Linked DNA regions of Homo sapiens: region 2 is linked to region 1. Evidence: promoter capture Hi-C in 16 types of primary human blood cells and fetal thymus (Javierre and others, 2016). All regions are on one chromosome and are shown on one strand. The core of a region is centred on a gene start or on the middle of the fragment in contact, and the rest is flanking DNA. Distances in the headings are between cores, read along the strand shown. Region 1 holds the start of MRPL36 (mitochondrial ribosomal protein L36). Region 2 overlaps NSUN2 (NOP2/Sun RNA methyltransferase 2).

Region 1 (7,227 bases), core at 70-2,569:
CCCCGTTGCGCCGGCAGGTGCAGCCTCATGCAGTTGCAGCCGCAGGCTAGAGCTAGGGCCCTGATGAGGCAGGCAATGGTGTGCGAAACCTTCAGCGATTAGGAGTACCCAGTGGTTCTTATTTAGCGGACAGGCAGGGGAGGATGTAAACTGAAAATACATTGTTTATATTCTTATGGTAACCGATAATCATGAGACATTTAAATATCAAAATTATTGGGTGAAGGAGTCAACTGCTTAGCAGACGAGACTGGAAGTGCATTCTCCTCGTTCAAGGCAAGCGTTCCTGTGTGTGGTTACGGGGAGCCGCAGAGGAAACGTATATTGGGGATTTCTGCAACAAAGCCTAGTACACCGACTGATTTTACAGCATGCAAATACAGCCTCTAAAAAGGCCCGTTTTGCTTAGAGTTGACTTGGGTATAAATCCCAGCTTAAGCTCCAGCATCCAGCTTTTCTTTTGCTGTGGTCAGAGCCTGAGGACCACGTGACTCCAAGAACAAAACACTAGAGATGGATGAGTGGCGGGGAAGATGATAAAGAGGAGGAAAGGCATGAGAAACAAGAATGCACATGAAAACCTCCGGTCCCAAAGATGTCCCAGCAAACGTGGTGGTCAGAGGCAGATTTGTCCTGGAGCTGATAAACTCCAGCGGCCCGCCCGGTGTTCGCCGGGTCAGGTGGAAAAAGTGGGCGCTGCGATGAAGCGTTGGGGCCTGCAGGGAGCGCGGAGTGGACGCAGCCACGTCTGCAACTCACCCGGACACACACAAAAAGGAAGGCGAATGGAGTTACGGGTAGATACCTGAAAAGGCAGGGATAAGCGAGCTAAGGGTAGAATCTAGGTGGCAAGTATATGGGTGTTCACCGTACAGTTCTTTCCCTTTTTCTCTATGTCCGAAGTTTTTCATAATGTTGGGGAAAACAGCCGTAACCAGTTGAAACTACTGCCCGTCTCCACTCGTTTCCCGGAGCCTGTTTACATTTCTCCTGTCCACTTAAAAACATGTCCTCTTTCTCAGTTTGTTTTGACATTGGTATTTGCCAGTTTTTTCTAAGGCCTAAGTGGTTGTAATTTCTTTTTCGTTGCGGATATCCATTTTCGTTCCTGGTTTTTGCATTTTTTTTCCCGAGAGCGCTCCAAACAGCACGACGATCCCGGTGGCCCGCAGAGTGCGCGCAGTCGGGGAGTGATACGTCGCACTCCAGCGCCTGCGCACTCGCTGCTGCGTCTCTGCGCCCCGCACTGGACGTGGGCACGCCACGTGACCCCCCCCCCCGCCGCCATCTTCCTTCCTGGCAGCAGCGTCCGCGTGCCAGTGCGCAGACGCAGGGGTCGGCGCCGGGTGAGAGCGTGCGGCCGGGTAAGGGAGCCGTCTTCTCAGGTCAGGGGTCCCGGGTGTCTTGAGAGTGGGGGCTGCGAGAGGGTGGGGCCGGCCACCTTGGGACCCTCGGGCGTGTCTCCCCGAGTGGGCTGCGGTCAGAGGAGCGTGGGCCGGGGCCTGGCGGTCTCAGAGGGCCAGGGTTGGGGGGTGCGGGTCCGACCGTGGGCGCCCGACCTGGCGACAGGAGGGGGTGTCCAGCGACCCCGGGGCGGGAGAACTGGCGGCTCCCGAACGCGACCTCACAGCCCGCGCGCAGGGCCGGCTCCGGTGCCGCAGTGTCCTCCGGGCCCTGCAGGCCCAGCTCTTCCCAGCCGGGGCCGCTGAACCCTAAGGGCCGGGGCGCGTGGGGAAGCAGGGGCGGGCGACCGGGGTGCCAGAGTTCCGTGCTCTTCCGGAGCGGGGGCCTGTCCCGAAACTGGCCCGAGGGAGGGCCCCTGGGTCTGGGAAGAGTTGGAGGGAGGAGCTCATCAGTTGAACCGTCCTTGACCTGGTGTCTGTTTGGAAAGGGATGCGGCCTAAGTTTAAGCTCCCTCCCAGCCAAGTGAGCGGCTCCTCAACATCGCAGGGCTTTGCACACTCACCTACACTTGCAGCAGGCGGGAAAGGGAAGGAAGCCACCGTCCACTGCCCCTTATTCTCCTGGCACACTTGGCTGATTAAGGCAGTGTTCAAGCTCAGGTCGAGGCTGCAGCTGGTATGGGAACACCCTCAGTCCCCGAGGTCCCTGCCTTCCCAAGCCTCAGTGAAACAGAGAAAAGGAAGCCTTAAAGAGCAGGTGGAAGTGCAGGAGAAGCTATAACTCCTTTTTTTCTCTCTCCCATAGATTCACCACAACATGGCAAATCTTTTTATAAGGAAAATGGTGAACCCTCTGCTCTATCTCAGTCGTCACACGGTGAAGCCTCGAGCCCTCTCCACATTTCTATTTGGATCCATTCGAGGTGCAGCCCCCGTGGCTGTGGAACCCGGGGCAGCAGTGCGCTCACTTCTCTCACCCGGCCTCCTGCCCCATCTGCTGCCTGCGCTGGGGTTCAAAAACAAGACTGTCCTTAAGAAGCGCTGCAAGGACTGTTACCTGGTGAAGAGGCGGGGTCGGTGGTACGTCTACTGTAAAACCCATCCGAGGCACAAGCAGAGACAGATGTAGACCCTTTCCCTCCAGAGTCACGCACATACTCGTCATCGCATCACTTGGGAGAATGGTTGTATCTTATGGAAGGAATTATCACATCAAGGAGTCAGGGGAAAGTGACTGGAAGCAAACGCCCTAAAAGTTACCCATCACGTTTCAGTGTAAATGAGTAACTATAGAAGACATTGCGTTATCTTATTTCCAAAACGTTCCAACTAAAAAACATTTTCCTATTAAAATAGACCTTCCGAATAGCTTAGTTCATTCATTCTCTCTGAACTCAGGCTGCAGGTAGGGATTGGATGGTGCTGGGTGAGGCTGGGCAGGACTTCTCTATGTCTCCGTGAGGCTGCTTAGAGCCTCTTGGAAGAAGTGGTGTTTTGGTCACCCGTCGCTGTACAAGCCAAGGCTTGGTGGCTTAAATCAGCCATTTTACATTGTTCACGATTTTGTGAGGCATTTGGGATGGGCTCAGCTGAGCAGTTTGTCTGATCTGTGTGGCATTAACTGCAGGACCCACTTCCAAGATGGCACCGGCTCTCCTGTCTGGGGTCTCAGTGCTCCTCAGGCTGTACGTAGCACCTCCTCAGGCAGGGCCCACAGCGTGGCTTGCACTGCCCCACAGTGAGCTTCCCGAGAGTGTCCCGAGAGACCCAAGCAGATGCTACGAGGCTTCCTATGACCCAGCCTCAGAAATTCCAGCGTGTCATTTCTACCGCACTCTTTCAGTCCCTAGGGTGAGCCCAGATTCAGGGGGAGGCAAGGAGCTCCCCTTGCTAGAGGATGACCACACCTACAACTGGTAAGGACTTGGAGGGATGGAGTGGGCTGGTCCTTCCCTGGTCATCGGGATTCATAGTTGAGTGAGCCCCATGCCTTGGGGGAGCACTGTCATCAACATGAATTTGGGGGTGGGGAGCACAGTCCAACCCAGAGCAGATGCTGAGATGCGACAGCCTTCTCACGGCTCCTTTCCTCCTGGCCAGGGACACCTCCCCTTCTCCCAGAAAGGAGTTTTGTGAGACAGGAGACCACGCAAGAAGCCTAGCGCGGGGGGAGCGCCCTCCTGCCCAGATCAGCAGCAGGGGCGCAGCAGGGTCACCCAGAAAGGCCTGGTGGGGCGGCAGAGGGGGCAGCATGGCCACATGAGGGCCAAAGCTCCTCCCCAGCACCCACATCACTTCTCCAGGGGGAGCAGACGCCGGTGTGTGTTGCTGTGAACTCTGTGCTGTGCCCATTCACCCTCACAAAGGGCCTCTGCAAGCAGCTTGACATGGGCATTGCAGCCCGCAGGCGTCTGGCCAGTTGAAGAAGGTGGAGAGCGTTATTACCTGAAAGAAAAGGGAACCAGCTCTGCGAAGAGCCTGCTTCTGTTGTGCAGTGAAAGGGAAGCCCTCTCTCGAGCCGTTCTTAAGTGAGGAGTTGATGCACTAGAGTGTCTGTCACGGGGGCCCCTGAAAGTGTCAGAAGCCAGACCCCACTAGGAGACCTGTTATGCACTGGGGCTGAGAATAGTTCAGCAAGAGAGAGGACTTTCCTCAAGCGTGTGTGTGTGCGTGCATGTGTGTATATGGCACGTGTGTGTGCATGCATGAGTGTGTCCACATATATACGCGTGTGTCTGCATACACTACCTGAACAGGCAGTGTGGGAGGGTGTGATGGGTCAGTGGCACCGCTGTAGTGACCCTCAGCAGACTGCAACCTTCAGCCAGCGTGTGCTGTCCATGTCTCTGATCTCTCACGGGGTGGGTGATGTGGTTTTGAGAACCACAGGGTCCTGACAGCCCCCAGCATGGCTTGCTGATGCTTCCCGAGCACCCTTAGCCTGGGCCCTGGGGTGAGGAGGAGAAGAGGTGCTGCTGCCCTCACACCCTTACTGCGTAGGAGCGTGTGAAACAGGCTGGTGAGTGCTGTGTGTGAAGCATGCCAGGCCCTCCAAGGCAAGAGGTCAAGGATGCTCCCTGCAGGGGATGACGGCCAAGCTGAAACTTTGGTTGCAGGGGAGGCAACCCGAGGAGGGGCCTGAGGCTGGGCACGGGCAGGGGGCATCCAAGCCATCCTGCGTGGATGAAAACTGGGTGTGTTTCTGCAGTACGCAGTGCTCTGGGGGGAGACCTGACCACCGGCTGCATGCCTGCAGTTGGGTGTGATGTGCTTACGTGCCATGCAAACGTGGGCACACAGTCGTGGCCTCTTGACAATTGCACAGACAAATCCCCAGCAAGGCAGCGTGGCACAGGAGCCAACAGGAAGGAATAAAGAAGGCATGGATTTCATGGCACGCTTGATCCAACGGGGAAAGGTGGGATTCTGCTAATTTTGCTTGAGTAGAAATCTAAGGCTGATAATTACCTATCCAGGCTTCAGTCCAGAATAAGTGATTAATAAAAGAATTCTGCAGAACCAGGCCAGGAATCCTGGGCATCGGCACTGTGGACATCTGGGGCTGGGTTGTGCTCCGGGCCCATCCTGGGCACTGCCGGGTGTTCAGCATCCCTGGGCTCCACCACAAGATGTCGGGAGCACCCCACACACAAGCAGGGCCAACCAAAAGTGCCCCAGACACTGTCAAGCACTCCCTGGGGGGCAACACGTTTCCCCATCAATGAACCAGGGTTGCTGCCGCCTGCCATGACGAGGGCTGGGATGCAGGTGCACCACTGGGAGGTGATCTCGGAAGTCAGGATGGGGAGTGGGGATGTGAGTCAGGGAGGGAGAGGAGCTTCCAGGGCACAGAACCAGAGCGACACCGGGTGCCACCTTGTTGTGTCCCCTGAGCTCTGGCGGAATGGACCTTGGTGTCCTGTAGGGGATGAGGACTGGGGGGGGGGGGGCGTTTATCCACAGATGCTCGTCACTGGTGGTTGAGGGTGACCGTGTGGGGACTTAAATCCCAGGCACTTCCAAGCCACCCAAAGGTGGGCTGAGCAGGTCCTCATGGGCACAGAGAAAGGCGACTGCAGAGAGAGGAGGAGTGGGCACGTGGGCCGGCAGGGTCATCCTGTCAGGAGCTGTCCCTGCACTCGCGAGACCTACGGGTGGCCTGGGGCCCTGCCAGATGCCAGCCCTGTCTTGCCAATGTCCTCCCTGTCTCCTGAAGGTGTGGTGCCAATGAACTGAAAGACGGATTGAAAATACTGTGAGAAGTTAGAAGTGCTATTCAGGTGTACGTTATTAGGTTATTCTCTGAGGGACTTTTAAAGTAAGATCAACTGGGGACAGCAGTGCAAGTGAAGGAAGAGTAAATGATGCCCAGATGGAGAGAAGAACATAGGAGCTGTCTATGCATTTCCAGAAGGAGGCGAGGTGCTCTGTGGGACGCTGTCATGTTTGTATCCACCTAGGAGGCTACTCACGGACCAGGTCTAACTGATGGACCACCCACCTGGCAGCGTCGCTGTCACTCACCCAGGAGAGTGGGAGGCGAGACCGGCACTCCCAGGGTCCAGGTCTCCTTCCTGTGCCGGACCGGTGGGGGCTGGGGCTTCCCTGCCTCCCTGCGAGTGGGCATGGCTGTGAGACCTGCTGTGGCCTATGAGGCTGGCTGAGGGTCACCAGCAGGGTCTCCGAGCAGAGGTGATGTGCTGCTTTGTGGCGGAAGCACTCCACGCGGTGCATTCGTTCTTCCCCCAGCGATGGTGGAAGTGATCGGGAGGTGGAAGAGCCGGTGGAAGAGTGTTGATCCTGTCCATTCCTCAGTGTCCAGCCTCCGGCAAGAAGCTTCCATGGAAGCCTCGTGTTTAAAAGGGGGCAGGCGCGACCCAGCCCTCCCACAGGGTTCTGGGAACCCAGAGAGCTGGGTGCTGTGGTCTCAATGTTTGTGTCGCCAAAAATTCCTGTGTTGAAACCTAATCCCCCGTGGGAGTGCTTTGGAACGGGGCCTTCAGGAGGTGACTCAGTCCTGCTCCAGGGCCTTGTGATGGGGTTTGGGCCTGAGAAAAGGGAGTCCAGAGAGCCAGCTCGCCCCATCCACCATGTGAGGAGGAGCCCTGTCTGTGAGCCAGGAAGCCCCACCAGACACGGAAGCTGCCGGCGCCTTGATGCTGGACTTCAGCCTCCAGATCTGTGAGAAACCAGTTTCTTGTCTGTAAGCCGTTGGTGGAATTTTGTTATTGCAGCCCGGACAGATGAGCATGCTGCGTGGAGGCAGAGCCTGCTTCCCAGCCGTGTTTGTGTCCGTACGTCTCCCACCAGCCCAGCCTGCAGCGGGCACTCGGCCAGCGAAGGCAGACCAGCACCTCCGTGCCTGCTCATGAGAGGAGGCCCGCCTCCTGCTTGCTCACCCCTTTTAAGGCCAAGCTCCCATTTTGCTCTGTGGACTTTGCTGAACGGTCCTGCCCAAGAGAACCCTCAGCACCTCTGGCACTGGAGTGTGGGACAAGTTTGACACTGGATTTTTCTAGAAATACACGTTCAGCGAAGGGCAGATGTGAAGTCAGTGGTCACACAGGCTCCTGGTAACCACAGAGCCCTGCAACAAATGGTAACCAAGCAGCCCTAGGGCAAACGGCGTGGCTCGCCACAAGCCATCTCGAAACTCAACGCCAAGACATATTTCTGAATATTAAATATGCAAAAAAAAGTTGTACAACCGTGTGCAAAATACGTTTCCATTTAAGTAAAAAACATAAATCTAAGCACGTTTTTCGAAGCCACCGTATTTAGGTAACTTTGTAAGAAAAGTTCTGCAGCAACACACTGCAAGACA
Region 2 (7,189 bases), core at 604-3,103, 4.8 Mb before region 1:
CCACAGTGCTTCATGCCGAATATTTATTTGGGATATTAATCTCTATCACTTGAATTATATTTCTTGGTACTGCATTTGCTGTTAAAGAGCTTGGGTATACTTTGCAAACATCCTAATGTTCTAGTACCTGGTGCTTTTATCAACATTATATTGCTACGCAAGTTTTCATGCGATTTGCGATTTGCAGCTTTATGAGTCACTGATTTCAGCCAGCTCTTCCTAGTACATCCAGCCTCTTCCTTTATGTCACCACTTCCGCCAGCTCCCTTTTACAGCCCTTGTTTTCTCACATCAAAACTGTTGCAGAGTGGCTGCTTTGCCTTCAGAAAAAGGACAGACTTAGCTTGACAACAGTCTCCTGGTAGGTAGTCTCTTAGTGTTTTCCATTACAGACAGGTTACCACTGTCTGCTGTCAGGTTGTCTCCTGGTACTTCGCAGTACAGACTGCACCAGCCAATGTAGCATTTCCGAGTCTCAGCACCCAAGCGTGCTACTACTCTGGGAGCTACCTCTTTCTTGACCTGTCCTGGAGGTGCCTTCTGGGTTACCTATTCCTCATGGCTCGGTTCTAGTCTCAGTTGTATGAAGGTGATCCCTTGTGCTGATAGCATCTTGTAAAGATGCTTGGAGAACTCCGGAGGCGCCAGTCCTTCAGTTAACTTACATAAGTGGGAAAGTCGTTATTATTAACTTTGAGGTATTGAGTTCTCAGAAAAGTAATGCACGAAAAGGTGAATTAAGCCGTTTTTTGTTTGTCTGTTTGTTTGTTTGGAGACGGAGTCTCACTCTGTCGCCCAGGCTGGAGAGCAGTGGCACCATCTTGGCTCACTGCAAGCTCCACCTCCCTGGTTCACGCCATTCTCTTGTCTCAGCCTCCCGAGTAGCTGGGACTACAGGTGCCCGCCACCACGCCCGGCCAATTTTTTTGTATTTTTAGTGGAGACGGGTTTTTACCTTGCTAGCCAGGATGGTCTCATCTCCTGACCTCATGATCCGCCCACCTCGGCCTCCCAAAGTGCTGGGATTACAGGCGTGAGCCACTGCGCCCTGCCAAATTAAGCGTTTTGCATCAACTTTTGAGGTTTTGACTATTCCAGTACGTAGTGTTATCTTTCCTTTTTGGATAACCTTTAGTGTTCGCAAATCAAGGTCAGATTTTCATTAATCATGGGGTACAGATTTGCTTGTTTTTCTTTCATTGGCTATTTGGATTTTCATTGTCCCTATCACAGATAAGCATATACATTCACAATGAATGCTGACTGGCCAAACATTAAGTCAGTATTCAACCAGTATCAAGACCGAATATCACCATCATGGAATGTGTTGCTGGGATATAGGAATAAATATGACCAACATCGTGAAACCCTATCTCTACTAAAAATACAAAAATTAGACAGGCATGGTGGCACACGCCTGTAATCCCAGACACTAGGGAGGCTGAGGCATGAGAATCGCTTGAACCCAGGAGGTGGAGGTTGCAGTAAGCCAAGATCATGCCACTGCACTCCAGCCTGGGCCACAGAGCGAGACCATGTCTCAAAAAGGGAAAAAAGAATAGATATGCCACATCTTAGATTTTTAAAAGCTTGAAGGGTACAGTATAGGAAAATGATACGGGTGCTACGTTGCTGTTAGTGGTCACTAATTGTCCACTGTAGTGAGATCAGTGGAAAAGGTAGATGTTTTTCAGCCTCTAGTTATGGCATTGCTGAGATGAGGTAACCTTCACGAGATCAAGCTTTTCTTCCTCCTGGTAACTAGGTTGTAGACTTTGCTCAAGTCGTTTGGTTTGAAGATTTGATTGACGACACTGATTGTGTTGTACTTGAAGTAGAGGTCTGATACTGTAGTAGTCCATTTTCACACTGTTATAAGGACATACCTGAGTAATGTATAGATAAAGGAAATAGGCTTAATTGACTCACATTTCCACATCGCCGGGGAGGCCTCAGGAAGCTTAAAATCATGGCGGAAGATCTCTCTGCACAGGGTGGCAGGAGAGAGAATGAGTGCTGAGCAAAGGAAGAAGCCCCTAATAAACCATCAGATCTCCCCCTGAGAACGAACTCACTGTTGTGAGAACAACATGAGGGAAACGGCCCGGGGATTTAATTATCTCCACCTCGTCCTGCCCTTGACACGTGGGGAATATTACAATTCAAGGTGAAATTGGGGTGGGAACACAGAGCCAAACCATCTAAAATATTTTAAGAAGACAGGATTACGATTCTCCTCGGGCATGTTTGTATTTTTAGCAGTGATGCATGTATGTGCTGCTTCACACAATCACCTGGAAACATTTGTTTCTAAAACCTTGTGTTTAGAAGCGCAGAGACGGGATAAGAAATGCTTTTAAGATGAAGAAGTTCCTGTCCAGGAGGAACGTTTCAGCATGTGTCTATAGGGAAGAGGTGTGCTCTTAAGGCACCTCCATGTGGGCATTTTCTTCTGCAGGCTCCAACAAACTAGGAGAAACCATACGATGTCAATAAGGCTTGCTAGTTTTTTATTATTCTCTGCAAACTACAGTTACACTTGGATTTGATCAGCCCTTTTAACATTTCATAGCTGCTTTTCCACCTTGTTTAACAATGTGTCTGGGTATATGACAAGGTAATTACCAAACTCTTAGAATCTGCAGGTTGTCTGTAGTTGAAGAATGAAGGTGAATTGCTCTCTGCCAACAGCCAGCTATGTTTTTGTTTGCTTTAATTTTCTGAACACACAGCTGAAGGGTATGAACAAAACATTGTAGATCTGGGTTTCTAATATTTGGCTTTTTCCATTATCAATGATGGTTTCTCTATATTTTATTTTGAGACAGGGTCTCACTCTGTCACCCAGGCTGGAGTGCAGTGATGTCATGACGGTTCACTGCAGCCTTGACCTCCTAGGCTCAAGTGATCCTCCCACCTCAGCCTCCTGAGTAGCTCGGACTACAGGTGCATGCCACCACGCCTGGCTAATTTTTTTTATTTTTTTGTAGAGATGGAGTTTCACCTTGTTGCCCAGGCTGGTCTTGCATTCCAGGGCTCAAGCAATCTTCCTGCCTTGGTTTCCCAAAGTGCTGGGATTACAGACATGAGCCACCATTCCTGGCCAATGCCAGTTTCTTGGCAGCTGTATTCTCTAAACATTTATTTATTCAAATTCATCTGTCAGTTTTAGGGTACTAAATCTCTCAGCAAGCAAGTAAAGCAGAAGCTTTCCAGGACTTCTGGTAATTTTCTGTATTGCTCAAGATGCAGGAATAGATCATGTAATATTCTTCCCAATCCTCTGGTACATAGTGAAATATAATTTAGGAAAACGTTTTTTGAAATTACATTTTCTAGAAGGAAAGTTATGTATAGGACCATAGCTTGGGCCAGTTTCATTTTTTTCTTACTTTCCATAGACTCAGAACAATGAGAAATTATCCTAAAGCATTCTTATAGAAGCATTGTTTTGACAACCAATTGTTCAGAGTGCACCTTATTATCATTCTATTTATGTGCTGTTTACTTATATTTTTTTTTGAGACAAGGTCTCTGTTGCCCAGGTTGGAGTGCAGTGGCATGATCTCAGCTCACTGCAACCTCCACCTCCTGGGCTCAGGTGATCCTCCCACCTCAGCGTCCCAGGTAGCTGGGATTACATGCCCCCATCACCATACCCAGCTATTTTTTCTATTTTTTGTACAGTTGGGGTTTTGCCATGTTGGACAGGCTAGTCTTGAACTCCTGACCTCAAGTGATCCGCCCACCTTGGTCTCCCAAAGTGCTGGTGTTACAGGCATGAGCCACTGCACCTCGCCTGTTACGTGCTTTTTAATGTCTAGATTGAGGATGGTTTGTCATAGATGTTGTATATATTTACAGAGTCCTTACCACTTGAGAATTTTTAATATGCAAAGATGACAGTGGTCCTTTTAACTTATCCTCTAAAAAGCCCAAATAGGATTTTTTCTTAAAAGACACAAGCTAAATTTGAAGTAAGTAACTAAAAATTAAATATACCTCTCATTTTGTTTGATGTTAAAATCTACAAAGATTTAATAAACATTTTTTGGTTCATAAAAAGATGATGCTGTTCCTAAAGCTGTATAAGAAACATAATTTAAAAACATTTCTTGTAGAAACAGGGCCTCGCTTTGTTGCCCAGGCTGTTCTCTGTACCCAGAGGAAATAAACATTTATCTGTTAGTTTCTGTTTGTATTTAAATATTTCAGAGTTCCTAAATGTTTCTTTACATGAGATCAACAGCCTTCACAATTATAAATACTGTAGAATTTTAATCTTGTAATAGTACGTTTACATTTTGACTATCAGAAATTTGACGAAAAAGACATATAAGGCTATATTTGTTCAAAGTATATCTAGACTGCTTATCTATATTTGAAAATGAAAATTCAGCTCTTTACAATAAGTCTAAATGGCATGTGGTGTTCATATTGATGTCTTAGTGATTTGGTAAGGCAATAACTTACATGATCGTACTAGCTTTGAGACAGACAAGTTCAGGAAGACCAGATACTATATGAGCTGGCATTTGGCTGTTTGCAAGTAGAGGTTACAGTGGCACAGCAGATATTTGCCCAATACTATAGCAAATGCCAAATTTGCATGTAACCTACTATTTCGCCTCTAATGAGTCCAAAAGATTATTTAAAACAATTCTTTTTAAAATTGCCTTATGAATATGATTTTCTTTTGGCTTTATATTTTTGAACACATTAAATGTCGAGGAGGGAACTGGGCTATATGAGATAGAATCAAAGCGCTGGGGACCTTTGGAGGGTGGCCGTGGACAGATTCAGCCAGTTTCGTCTTCATTATTTGGTAGAAAATGCTTTTCAGGTATATTTTGTAATATTTTGACTTGAGCAGTGTCGGGCTTTTAAGTCCTGAGTTTGTTTCCATCAAAAAATCAGAGTTTAAAAGCAGTCAAATGTGTTTGTGTTTTCCAGACATTCCAGTTTTATTTTCATGGTTTTCACTCTAGCTACAATTTGACGCATGGAAACATTGTGAGCCTGCATTGTTAAATTGAGTGTATTACTGCATCTCAGGTTTAGTGAGAATTGCTGAAACTACACTAAGATTTATGGCCGTGTGACGTGGTACACTTGGTTTGGCATTGGATTGAGCATGGTGCTGCATGACATCAGTGTGCTCATTTGTACGGTGCAGATGCCTGTATAGGTGCAGGCCAAGTTTCAAAGCACATCCTGGGTGGGGTACAGTGGCTCATGCCTGTAATCCCAACACTTTGGGAGACTGATGCGGCCGGATCACTCGAGGCCAGGAGTTCGAGACCAAGCTGGCCAACACGGCAAAACCACATCTCTACTGAAAATACACGTCTGTAATCCCAGCTACTCAGGTGGCTGACTGAGGCATGAGAATTACTTGAATCCAGGAGGCAGAAGTCACAGTGAGCTGAGATTACACCACTACACTCCAGCCTAGGTGACAGTGAGACTGTCTCAAAAAAAAAAAGGCAGTGTTTTTAGTATCCCCCATTTCTCCCCTAATTAAAAAAAATAAAAAAAATAAAAATAACATTGATGTCATCATTTATAGAAAGTTCAAATATATTCACAGATATGATGGCAGGAAATGCTTTATTCTTAGTTATATATAGGTAACAGCCTAGGAGCTCAAGTTAATGCATTAGTGGTTTCCAAGGTAGGATTTTTTTGGTATGTAAAATATTTTAGTGCATTATTGAACTGGTGTTAGAAATAATGAAAAATATATTTTTTAAAAAACTAATCAGGTATTTGTGGGACACTCTGACACTGCATTATTTTGATTCTGTGTGATCTGCACATTAAGTAAGTCATCTTGTATCTTTTTTTTCTGATGACCTTACCATTGTTACCTTATAATGGTGAAGAGCAGAGGAGTGTCCGCTTTTTCATCTGATCTCGAGCGTTTCATCATTATAATTTTACAGTAATATGCATAATCTTGTAACCCCCATGGCTCTCCTGTTTCTGATTGGGCCACGGTGTAGCTAGAGCCATGTTCCTTAAGCCTACAGCGACATCTCTGAGTGTTGCTGACTGTCCGTAGAGGATTGTGAATAGGAGCAGGGAGAACAACATTCGAAGTCTCATTTGGCATGCGACTGATAGAAGCACAAAGTTGTCAACAGACGACTTTAGTATTTATAATCCATAAATGTTTTGCTTTCTTTTTGGTCAGGTATCCTGAAGAACTTGCCTGGCACACAAATTTAAGTCGAAAAATCTTGAGAAAATCGCCACACTTGGAAAAGTTTCATCAGTTTCTAGTTAGTGAAACAGAATCTGTAAGTTGATTTCTTTAGACTTGCTAGTTTCCTTAAAGCTGTAAATGCATAGATGTAGTGTAGTTCTGTTTTTAGGTTCTTGTCACTAGAAGCAGTAGGTGGACATCACACACAGTAAAGACAACTGCAGTGTGTGCACCACCTGTGATTTCTGATTATTTGTATATCCGTTGCCTTGTTTGGTTTATCTAGTCATGAAATTTAGTAAGGATATCGATGCCAGCTAGTTAATTTCTTGTTTCCTCTTGCTTGTGTATTTGGATGGCTATAGGGTTGGGGTGAGCACTGCACTCTCATTTCCTTCTTAGGTACACATTTCAGATGCCTGTTGTACATAAAAAGTAGTATGTTTTTAAGGCCATCTTGGTAGGGAATAGGTTTTTGGTTCTGTTTTTTAAAATTGATTTATTTTACTAAAAATGAAGCTTTTGATTTTACTTTTTACTGTGTTTTTTTTTTTTCTTACCACACATTGCTCTTGGTAACCACAAAACACCTAAGCACCACAAAACCCCTAAGCACAGCTTTGGTCCTCACAGGACGGCATCTGTCTTCACATTCTCCGTAGCCACCCACATTCCTTGAGTGCAGTTAAGGTGCTGAGCTTTTTACCTTTAGCATCAGAGCATCCCCAGCAAAACAGCTATTTGCTTATGTACTAAATAATTCAATGAATGCCCATAAAGTTTGGGTATTTTTTTTGGAATTCTTAGTCTCACATTTAAAATCAGAGGTTTCGTCCTTCCTATTTTCTAAACTACTACCTTCTAGTAAATCTGTGTGTCACCAGATTATGGTTCTTTTTCACTTTGGCCTTCTGTCATCTAAGTAACCGACTAAACTGGGCTTGTGTCTGCCTGGCTTTTCCTTCCTGAATAGTAACAAGA

What was found. Contacts are between HindIII fragments. The CHiCAGO score rates a contact against its expected background, and 5 or more counts as called.
Region 2: a contact is called between a fragment that was not itself captured here and the fragment with the promoter of MRPL36 in region 1, in 2 of 17 cell types (erythroblasts and total B cells). The highest score is 10.2, in erythroblasts.

The regions. Positions count from the first base shown.
Region 1 is chr5:1,793,929-1,801,155 of GRCh38, reverse strand. MRPL36 (mitochondrial ribosomal protein L36) reads left to right here and starts at 1,319. Exons shown (of 2, transcript NM_032479.4): 1 at 1,319-1,364; 2 at 2,209-2,771. The coding sequence starts at 2,221. The coding sequence ends at 2,532. RefSeq lists enhancers at 120-249, 310-359, 6,718-6,827 and a silencer at 1,440-1,849. The HindIII fragment of the contact is 7,489 bases long and covers 1-6,241 here.
Region 2 is chr5:6,624,677-6,631,865 of GRCh38, reverse strand. It overlaps NSUN2 (NOP2/Sun RNA methyltransferase 2), which reads left to right. Exons shown (of 19, transcript NM_017755.6): 4 at 6,197-6,302. Among named protein-coding and RNA genes, the nearest start is that of NSUN2, 4.8 kb to the left of the region's middle. The HindIII fragment of the contact is 218 bases long and covers 1,745-1,962 here.